Regions from separate parts of the Homo sapiens genome. Here region 2 is linked to region 1. The links are contacts of gene promoters, found by promoter capture Hi-C in blood cells and fetal thymus (Javierre and others, 2016). All regions are on one chromosome and are shown on one strand. The core of a region is centred on a gene start or on the middle of the fragment in contact, and the rest is flanking DNA. Distances in the headings are between cores, read along the strand shown. Region 1 holds the start of LRRC66 (leucine rich repeat containing 66). Region 2 overlaps DCUN1D4 (defective in cullin neddylation 1 domain containing 4).

Region 1 (5,908 bases), core at 3,314-5,813:
ACTATTTGAAATATTTGTGAGATTGCTTAATTATATAAAGTTATTAAAATATTCTATGATATGAAAATACAAATTAGAAATATGGACAGTATGATCCAATTTTGAAAGAAAAAGGTACAAATAGGCATAAATAATAAACTTGAAGAACATATATAACATGAATGACTTTAATTTTTCCCTTTAAATTTTTCTTCAGTTGTTAAATGTTCTATAAGTAACAGGTATTCTTCTTGTAATAAAAATAATACAATAAAAATAAAATAAAATGCAATTCATTTACACTGAAAATATGACATACTACTTTTATGGAGAAGGTCAGGGAGATAAGACGCCCACCCTTCTCAAACAATTCTGCTGACATGGTGACTGTAATAATTCCTATACCTGCTAGGCTATTATTGCCAAAATGATGCTTAAAGCAAAGCTGGAGAAAGAGCATGAAGATAAAAACATGAAATGTCAGAACTGGATAATAAGAAAAACTAAATATGCACAATTTGGAATGGAGAAAGAGAACAATAACCTTATACATTTTTTTGAATAATGTCTTATATAAAGGAGGTGCTTAGCAAAGAGTGAACAAGCCTGAAAACAAACAAGGAAAGGAAATTAATTGTCTAGCACTCTGGAATATAAAAAGGGCAAAGGAAGTTTTGCTTTATGAACTTGATATATTTTCCAAAGAAAACATTGGTGTATCCGTTAAGGAACTCCAACATATAGACTATTGAATGTCAGATGAGAATTTATGATAATTGGAGGCTATCTGGAGTACCCTGTTAGAAACTAGGATAAGGAATTCTGATTTTGACTTGATAATCAGAAGGTTTACATACCAATATATAATATTAGGATACTTCTGCTGTAAGTTTGGAGGACAACTAGATAGACTGAGGCAAAATGTACTCAAAGAAGAAAAATATTATAATATGGCAACATTTAATTTGAATTGTATTACATATTAAATGTATTTGAACTAGTTATTGCTCAGTGCTTTTCTATATTAACTAATACATGATAATTAAAGTAGGTAACTTACAATCACTCATTATTATTTAGCACTTAAATACTTCCTAGTGTCTCGATAACCGCACATAACATTAATGTCAGATATACTAATGGGAGACTAAATTTCATTAGCTGTAAATTCCACACACTATAACTTCCAATGCCACTAAGAAACATTATTATATGTGCTCTGATCAAATTGCTTTACTTTCAGCTGTCCCTTGAACCTGAAAACAAATGTGGAATTCTTATGAACATGAAACAACTCCACGTAAGCATTGTTTCTCTGCCTAGTTAAAATTGTACTCACCCTTGGGAGTGTCACTGAGTTTATTTCTTTGAAGAATGAGCACCTTCAGCAATGGAAACCTGTTTCTGAAGCTGCTTCTGTGGCGTTTCACCCATGAGGACTTAGGACTGAGTAGATCCAATGAGAGGGAGTGGATGGCATTGTTGCTGAGGTTTAACACTTCCAAAGCATGTAAATATGCAAAAGGGCTTAAGGTTATTTTTGATATGAGATTGTTACTGAGGTCCAGATGTTTTATTTTCCACTCTTCTTTTTTCGTGTGAGACTGTAAGAGAACTCTAAAGAAATTGAAACTTACATCCACAGTGGCTGCTGTCTGTGATATGTCCACAGGTATATCACACTTTCCGGTAAAAGAACAATTTGTCAGAATATATTCATTCCATTGGCATTCAGAATTGAATAAAATATTGCTTTTTCTTGATGCATTTGTCATTATTCCAGTAAAATAAAGACCTATAACTATGGTAATGACTCTGAAATAGAGGTTTTTCATAATGCCTGGAAAAAGGAAAATGAATTGACTTATTCACAATAATATATAAAAACTAACAGCAATAAGCAGCAAATTTAATTTTCAATTTAAGATTTCGGAAAGTTATCTTGTCTTGGTTGCCAATTTAAGCGAATGTTTGATTTCTTACTGGGGCATGAAAATGTAGCTACCAAAATGAAATAGCCATAGTATAAAATTACATTTATGTCACATTTTAAAGAAAGGACTCCCCTGATTTTTCAGAAAATACATATTCAGTTAGGCCTCACCTCTGCATCTGCTTTTCCAGTAGTTTTCACTCCACAGTGTGCTTTGGGATGAATGAAACCTTACCAAGATTAAAGACTTCCCTGTTTCTTTGCAGGCCATTAATACAGAGCAAAGTCTATTATGCTTATCTACAACATAGTAATCAACCATGTAGTTTATTACATAAATGACAACCAGTTACACTAAACCGTGACCCTCCATAACTCTATGAGTAAAAAGTTTAACTCACAAAAGAGGCTCTTACTTTTCATGACTAGAAGAAATACAAGTTTTGCTGTGTGGCTTGTGTGACTTTTCAAATCATTATGAAATCATTTAGATACATACAACATAATGTGTTATCAAATACATGTTCTGGCTCCAAGCCATGAAGATGTAATACGATACAGAAACATTGAGTATCTTTTGTACCAAACATTTTTGAGAAAAAATTCAAAGTTTTTAAAAAGAAGTGTGTACAAATTACAATGGCTGAATGTATCACAAAAATAAGTTTAAAAATGGGTAATTTTTGTGATTTGTTTTAAACTAAATTCCACTTAAAAGCCACTGTGTGTACAAATAATCACATTATTGAGTATATGAGTTTCCAAGAAATTGTCCCTTCCTTTCTGTTCTAATGGCACTCAGTTTAGTTTTCATCACTGCAGTCTGAAATACTAAAATGGCTTAACTGACTTTCTTGCCTCTGCCTCTTGACTTTCCTTCTTTGTGATCCATCCTAGGTGACTCCAAAGGATTATTTTCCTACAATAACGTATTTCCTATATTATTCCTTCATTTGAAATCCTCAAAGGGCTCCTTATTGCCTATAGTCCAAATCCCTCAGGTTGGTATTCAAAGCCTGTGTTATCTAGGTAAACTTAATGACCTAGCTTGATAAGTTCATGTGGAGCCACTACAAGATGTGGCTTCTGCAAAGAATGATCTATGCATATCGCATACTGAAATTCACTTTCAGTTCATTCCCAGTTCCAAGTTCAATGCCTTTTCCTCTTAGCCACAGTCTTAAGATGGAGTTTCGCTCTTGTTACCCAGGCTGGAGTGCAAGAGCGCCATGTCAGCTCACCACAACCTCCGCCTCCCGGGTTCAAGCAATTCTCCTGCCTCAGCCTCCCGAGTAGCTGGGATTACAGGCATGTGCCACTACAACTCACTAATTTGTATTTTTAGTAGAGATGAGGTTTCTCCATGTTGGTCAGGCTGGTCTCGAACTCCTGACCTCAGGTGACCCGCCCACCTTGGCCTCCCAAAGTGCTGGGATTACAGGCGTGAGCCACCACACCCGGCCAGCCACAGTCTTGTGTATCCTTCCAGATTCATCTCACATCTTATGGCCTGGTCATTTTTCCTGCTTTAGCCTCCAAATTTGTCTTTATTCTTACAGAAATCTTTCAGTAAACACTGAAGGAATTGATACACATTAGTAACATTCAGCGTTGCTATTGTTTTGCTTTGTATCTGTTCTGAACTCCCAAAAAAAAAAGGAACATTATCTATCTATCTATCTATCCAATGTTTTACATTTTTAATAGTCTGCAGTCTGTCACTGGGTTATGTTGTTTGTGTGTAAATGAATGCATGGAGTGAAGTGAATGAAATTTACAATGTAACTTTAAAACTTTTGTTTCATACAAGGTCAATCCTCCCATATTTTCAAGGGCATTTAAATTCAGGTACACATGGCCATGAACAGCAAAGGTAGCCTACAGCATGGAGGAGTGATTTATTTTTACAGTGTGCTTCTTATGCAATACTAGAAATTGAATTGATTTGCCCAGGAACAAAGATATTTTTTCTACGTTCAAAGCTGAGATCATTATATATACAATGGTGCACCAAGCTAATGTAACAAAATCAGCAACAAAAAAATATAGTCACCATTCACAGGTACATTACTTTGTAGTGCTGAAGAGAAAGACATGGTTGAAAAATACTTTTTCTTAAGGGGACATGAATTAAAATTGCCCTGGTTCTTTTTAAGCTGAAGAGATTTATACATGTTAGGTTTGAGTTCAAAACAGCTAGACAAGGAATCTTATATCTTAAAGTGAAAGGTATTAATTTGTTAAAAAAATCATACTATTTATAAATTTATATGTATTAGGTAAGGAACCACTCAGAACTCCAGAAAAAGTTGCTTAGAAAACTGGAAACAATTAGGCAAAATGTAAATTTCAAAATGGAAATAGTCAAGCTGAAGTAGGAGGAAGCAGTTAGAAATACTGGGTGTGTACATTTGTGAGTCAGCAAGTGAAAGATAGGAAGAAGGCAGCACAAAAAAACAAAGTATTATAGAAAGGAAATGAAGAGTTCATTTATACATAAAAGAAAGGGTGGCAAAACTGAAGGAAAAAAGCAACAGAGGCTATTTCGGGTAAGGACAAGACCTGGAAAGTAATAATGCCTCTAAGACATACCTTCGTATCCTAAGTGGTTATCAAATGGGTGGATATCTGGATCAAGCCAGGTAGGGATTTAAGACCTGAACCTTTGAGGCTCCACCCAACCTGCCATCAAGGCTGCCCAGTGGCCAGCCCTCACCCTTTCATCTCCGGCTTTGGCCTCCTGCCATGGTGACAGTGTGCACTTTCCCCTAGGACACCAGGGAAGCACCACTGGAGAGAGGCCTTCTGCAATGCACAGAGAGGAGGGCATTCAAAACTTGGAATGTACAACTTTCTAACTTTGAGTTCTAGGAGTCCAGAGAGATTACATAAATACTGACAGCGTCCCATTCTCAAGCCATATTTAAATTCATCACGTTCGCATGACTAAGTAGAAAACAGTTAATATATAACCCTTAAAAAATTAACAGCAAACAATTTACAGAATTTTTATTGTAAACAGAAGCTCATTACTAGTTATTACAAACTGAATCAACTGAAACTCAAGTTAGCAATGTGAAACACATTTATAGGCTTATTTTTGTATACCATAATTGGTAATTTTTGCCCCCTCAATACTTTTAAGAAGACTGTTAAAATTTTCAGCATTTCAATGATCTCTTATTTGTCAGGTTTAGCACCATGACATTCTCATTCCCTTAAAAAAACACTCATTCAAATCTAGGTAGAACTTCCACCTTTCATCATCAAAATTATCACACAAAATTTATTTTGTTTTTTTCACAATGCAAAAAGAAGACAAATAAGTATATTTTAAAATATTATCAGCAGTCCGTTTTGTGTGGTTTTACATTTTTCTGTCTGCCCATTATTAAGAAATCTTGCATTGATTTCATTTGCCCCCCTTGTCATTGCAACCCGTCTCTAGAATACTGTGGTAATTGAAACTAGCATGTACCTGCGCCCCCTCCCGGGGTCCTATCTTTGTCACCCACCTCCCCCATGGCTACTGCTTGTCATATCTGTGCTCAGTGCAGGGATGAGCATACAGCAGGAAGAGGCGAAGTCAGCATTTCATTTACAGAAAAATACTATCTGGTGGAGACAATGAGTTGCTGAAGATTTACTGTGGATAAAAATAAGCCGGCCAGGCGTGGTGGCTCACACCTGTAATCCCAGCACTTTGGGAGGCCAAGGCAGGCAGATCACGAGGTCAAGAGATTGAGACCATCCTGGCCAACATGGTGAAACCCCGTCTCTACTAAAAATACAAAAATTAGCCGGGAACTGTGGCACATGCCTGTAGTCCCAGGTACTCGGGAGGCTGAGGCAGGAGAATCGCTTGAACCTGGGAGGCAGAGGTTGCAGTGAGCCGAGAGCCGAGATTGTGCCACTGCACTCCAGCCTGGCGACAGAACAAGACTCTGTCTCAAAAAAATAAATTAATTAATTAAAAATTAGAAAAGCCATAAGTAA
Region 2 (5,623 bases), core at 3,057-5,556, 160 kb before region 1:
ATGAACCTGTTTACTCTTGTTGCCTTTAGTAAAGTAAAACTTCATACGTGGAACCTGATTTTAAACATAATATCTGTATTTTTGTTCCTGTGTGTTGTGATTATCTGCAGTCAACATTATGAACATCAGTTGCTGGTATATGAGTCGCAGTGCCATTCTTGCATTACTATAAAGAAATACCTGAGACTGGGTAATTTATAAAAGAAAAGAGGTTTAATTGACTCACGGTTCTGCAGGCTTTACAGGAAGTATGGTGCTGGCATCTGCTTGGCTTCTAGAGAGTCTTACAATCGTGGAGGAAGGTGAATGGAGAGCAGGCACACCACATGGCGAAAGCAGGAGCGAGAGAGAGAAAGGGTGAGAGGAGGTGCCACACACTTTTAAATGACTGAACCCCATAAGAACTCACTCACTGTCTCAAAGACAGCACTAAGCCATGAGGGATCCGCCCCCATGATCCAAACACCTCTCACCAGGCCCCACCTCTGGCACTGAGAATTACAGTTCAACATAAGACTTAGGTGGGGACATATCCAAACTATATCACCATCATAGGCTAAAAGATGTACCAGGCCACCTGCCTCAATTACAGAGGAAGCTCTGACCTTGGGATCATTGATGTAAGGCGAGAATTGAACCTAGGAAAAGTTAGAGACTATTTTAGACAGCTGTGTGGTATGGAGAATGGTGTAAGTAAATATAGTCGGAATTGATGTCTTTTATTGAGCACTTACTATCTTCCAGGTATTGTAATGGGTACCTGACATACCTAGACATTGTAATAGGTGTCTGATAAATATTTTCAACCATACAACAACATTATGAAGGAGAATTTTTTATCCTCACTTTACAGATGAGAAAATTGGTAGACCTGAGATTTGAACCAGCTGTTAGACTCCAGAGTCAGGTTGTGAAGCAAAGTGGATTTTTGACAGGAATAGAGTGGTTTTGTGTGTGTGTGCAAGTGTGTGCACACATTTGAATTCTCTTGGGTGTAGGAAGGGCAGTGGGCAGAATGTGGGGTTGGAAGGAAGGGTTTTGTGGAGTGGGGTGGTGAAAGATGTTTGGAGTATGAGTTGGGCCCAGCTCACCGAAGTCCTGGAATTCCAGATTGAGGATAACTTGTGTTTCTTGTCTTTTCTACTTCTTCCACATTTATATAAAGGAGGGAGAAAGATATAACAGTTTTGGTTTATTTAGATTCTCTTATGGGAATTTTGGGAGTTTAATTAACAGCAGGGTGGTGAAATGACAAAAGCATAGCCTGGAGAGTTAGAAGAGACCTCATTGCTGGAATGGCTTTTGGCAAGCCCCTTTTTCTCTCCCCTCCCTTACCCTCAGTGAAAAGAGAATCAAGAGGCTAAAGTTTTCTCAGTTTTTGCTTTTTGTTTTTTTGGGGGCCCAAGAGTTTAACTTCATATTTTAAGGTGATAATGGAATGTATCATTTGTCTTCCTATATTTAATCTGAGAGAGTACAAAAAGGGGGCTATGGCTTGGTAGTGGATGGGGTGGAGGTGCAAGAGTTGAATGTTCAAGCTCCTCAGCACCTCTTGCTGGTCCTGAGAGGCCTCTTGCTGGTGAGAGGGCTGTAGCTTCTAGCTTCTACCCCTGTTCACGTTTAATAAATATAAATGTAAATAAATAGGTGTATAATACACATACTTTTCTAAACCTCTGTGCAGTCGTATTTAGATGAAAAATCCAGATTCTCAGCCACTTTATGTCATCATTTACCTTAAGCATGGCTGGGCTATTCAGATGCTAAGCAATTCAAGCATGTCTATATTGGAGGGCCATTTAGAGCTTGAGGCCCTGCTCTGGCTGTCTCTCAGCACAAAATGCTGGTTTTGGGGACCATTCTATATGGCTATGACTGTGAACAGTGCATATGCACATGTATGTATACAGGTATGACCTGCTGTTCCTGACACTGCATGTGAATGTGAGGGGCTCTGCTTCTGCCAGCCCCTCTGCCCTGCAGACCTACTCAGAACTGGATGCCCAACAAGCTTTAGAAGAGAAAGTAAAGCTTTCTAACTGTGAACAGGGAGGCCAGCTTGTTTTCAGGGTTCAGAGTAGCAGCACAGAGGATCCAGCCCAAGCACAGACACCTGATATTGTAGCACCTGCTCTTTGGATCTGTTCTTTGGATCTGATACGTGTCCTAAATAAAATGTTTCAGTAAAGGGAGCTTTTTTTCTTTCTTTCTTTTTGTCAGAATGGTATAACTTGGAGAGTTACAATATCTTTTCATGGTCATTTTCATACTAACCTTTAATAGGAAAGAAGGAACTAATGTAAATCCTGATATTTTGTGAAAATACTTCCAGTGGTACTTATATATGAAATTATTAATAAACTTTCAGCTTACATTTTTATTGCCTAATATATATGCAAACATACTTTACTTCAAGTTGAGGCTGCGCGTAGTGGCCCACACCTTTAATCCCAACATTTTGGGAGGCTGAGGCAGGAGGATCACTTGAACCCAGGAGTTCAAGACCAGCCTGGGAAACATAGAAAGACCCTGTCTCTACAAGAAAAAAAAAAAGAAAAATTAGCTGTGCATGATGGTGCACACTAGTAGTCCCAGCTACCATGCAGGCTCAGGCAGATCACTTGAGCCTGGGAGTCTGAGGCTGCAGTGAACCATGATTGCACCACTGCACTTCAGCCTGGGCAACGTAGTGAGATCCTGTCTCAAAAAAAGGAAAAGAAAAAATAAATACTAATGTTGGGATGCTTTTCTATCATTTTCTTGCCATGAGCTTACTTAATTGTACCAGTAATTCTAGGGAAGAGAGGGGAAAGTGAACATTTCATTTGAGACTTATCTTTCTATTAAGTTCAAGTTCACTGCTGGCAGGATTTTATAACTACTGAAGTACTTTTTGTTTTACCTTAGAATTCACATGAAAATTTCATGAACTTTAACATTTGGTTGGGAATTTAACTTTATTGTCAGACTATTTCTAGGAGGTCACTAATTGCATGTTTTTAAAAAACTTTAGTGTCAAATTAATTGAGATAGTATTTAATTATATCAAAACATTTGTTTATTTTCTGAGTTTGTTTTTTTACAATATTGGAAATAAATGACGCTGACATTTTTCCTTTTTCTTTTCAAGATTTTCAGCTGAACTCTCATCTCTCAACACTGGCAAATATTCATAAGATCTACCACACCCTTAATAAGCTGGTAAGTCATTCTTTTAAAGACAAAATTACCAACTGTTTGAAGTAGTCATTTTGTATAAGTGTATTTGATAAAAATTTAGATTCTAGATATTAGGATATCAGTTGTTTATGAAAATGCTAACGGTATGTGATTTCTTCGTAATAACGAACATATTTCTTTCAGAACCTAACAGAAGACATTGGCCAAGACGATCACCAAACAGGTATCTGTAAATGCTAACACTACTTAATTTTAAATAGCTTCTTAATATTAGGAAAGAGAAATACTAGCTATGAATGCGCTATGTTGTCATAATGTACTCCATTAACAAATTGTTCCTTGGCTGAGGTTGTTTTTCAGGGAGTAATGAAGGCAGCCATGTTATAGCTTCTTCCCAGTAGGAAATCTCTTCTGGAAGCACTTTTTAATGCCTTTAAAGAGGCTCGGGATTCTCATAGTTTCAAGATACCTTGTTTTCTCTACTGCAGTATTTTCATTTATATTAAAAAGGTGCTACAGTAATGCAATTTGAAAGGTATTCCACAAATATTTGAGAAATTCAGCTGAAAAATGATTTAATATGGTGTGTGTGTATGTGTTCATAGTTACTGAAGATTTAGAAATCAGAAAATTGAAGCTTGATTAGTATAAGTTATCCTCTAACCCTGTGGTTCTCAGAGTTTAGCTGGCATTATGATCACCTGAGGGAAGGCCTTGTTTAAAGTACAGATGTTAGGTTCCACCCCAGAGTTTCTGGTTCTGTAGACTTGGGGTGGGGCCCCAGAGTTTGCTCCTATGTGATGCTGATGGAGCTGGTCTGGAGACCACTCTTTGAGAACCACTTCTCTCAACTGTTAGTAATCATCAAGTCCAGAAACTTGCATTTGATCTATGGTTACTAAAATCCTAGCAAAAATTATTTAAACACATTTTAAAGTTTTTGAAAATGGCCATAGTAATAGACGAATTGAAATTTGTCTTAGTCTGGGCTGCTGTAACAAAAATACCTTAAACTGAGTAGTTTATAAACAATAGAACTTGATTGTTCATGGTTCTGGAGACTGGTAAGTTTAAGGTGAAGGCACCAGCAGATCCTGGGTCTGGTGAGGGTCTGTTCCTCACTGATGGTGCCTCTTGCTCACTGCATCTTAACATGGCAGAAGGGGCAGGCAGCTCCCTCAGGCCTCTTTTATAAGGGCACTAATTCCATTAATGAGGGCTCTACCTCCCTGACCTAATTGCCTCCCAACTCTACCTCTTACTACCAGCAGTCTGGGGATTAGCTTTCAGCATGTAAATTTTGGAGGGGCACAAACTTTCAGGCCATAGCAGTGCTTGTTGGGGAATTTTGAATAGCACAAAAGTAAATAGAGTGGAAAGTTACAGTCGTCTTTTAGACAACTATTTAGACGTCTCTTTAGATGACTAAATAGAGTGAAAAGTGACAGCTGTCACTTTCTGCCAGCACATGGTTTAACATTGGTTCTTTCAGACTTTTTTTTCAAAGCAAAAACTCTTTAAGAAAAAGGTATGATTTCTCATTTTCTATTCTTAGCATAAGTTTTAATTCTTTCCAGTGGAACCCAAACCTCCTGAACCTCTTTCAGTGTCATCCAAAGCTTTGAACTTCTATTTCTGGATAAAGATTTGTTCACAAATGAACTGCAGTTCAATCACCTTTTTTGACTTCAGACTTTTCTTTGCCAAAATAAAACAGTACAGCACCAGCATTTCCTCTGTAATCTTCCTTTATGATACCACCTCCTACATCTATAAAGTGTTTTGCAGCCAAGCCAGCGTGGAGCTACTCTTCCACAACACCTGGAAGGAGGAGCTCTATCTAAATGTCTGTTCACAAGAGCTTTCTCCATAGGTGGTATTGTATCATCTTAGGCACTGTACAGGTCATAGCCTGCAGCCTGTACAGACCCTCAGGTCAGGCCGTGGTATGCTTGGAGAGCTGGGCAAGGCAGAGCTGCATGCTGACCTCCTCCACAGACCAGAGAGCTTGCTGGGGGAAATGGCAGGTATCTCTTTAGAGAAGGGCATGGCAGAACGAGAAGGTGAGCGAAGGAGGGAATGAGAGGGTGCAGGATCCCTTCTCACATTTGTATGCATGCATATATGTTTATAGTCGTGGTTTTTAATTTAGCATTGGTGATATCATACTGTACGTGTTATAGTGTGTTTTTCTTTTTCATTTAATGGTGCATTTTGGGGGCTGTTGAGATTTAAGACTGTCCCCACCTTCTCTAAATTGGTTCAGAATCAATTGAAAATTAGGTGTAAGATGGAGACTGAAGTAACAGTGTTTTTGGAAAACACAACTTAGATGTGCAGCAAGAATGCACAGGACTTTCAGCATTTCACCTGAATCACTGTCACAACTAGATAAGCACAAGCCAGCATACCTGCTGACCCTTTACACCCTGCACTATGACAG

Evidence for each region. Contacts are between HindIII fragments. The CHiCAGO score rates a contact against its expected background, and 5 or more counts as called.
Region 2: a fragment that was not itself captured here is called in contact with the fragment with the promoter of LRRC66 in region 1 in 2 of 17 cell types (monocytes and endothelial precursors); the score reaches 6.6 in monocytes.

What each region holds. Positions count from the first base shown.
Region 1 is chr4:52,015,800-52,021,707 of GRCh38, forward strand. LRRC66 (leucine rich repeat containing 66) reads right to left here and starts at 4,564. Exons shown (of 5, transcript NM_001024611.3): 1 at 4,505-4,564; 2 at 1,319-1,819. The coding sequence starts at 1,814. SGCB (sarcoglycan beta) reads right to left here. Exons shown (of 6, transcript NM_000232.5): 6 at 4,907-5,908. The HindIII fragment of the contact is 6,788 bases long and covers 1-5,908 here.
Region 2 is chr4:51,860,307-51,865,929 of GRCh38, forward strand. It overlaps DCUN1D4 (defective in cullin neddylation 1 domain containing 4), which reads left to right. Exons shown (of 11, transcript NM_001040402.3): 2 at 3,131-3,201; 3 at 3,364-3,403. It also overlaps the pseudogene DUTP7. Among named protein-coding and RNA genes, the nearest start is that of DCUN1D4, 20 kb to the left of the region's middle. The HindIII fragment of the contact is 982 bases long and covers 3,816-4,797 here.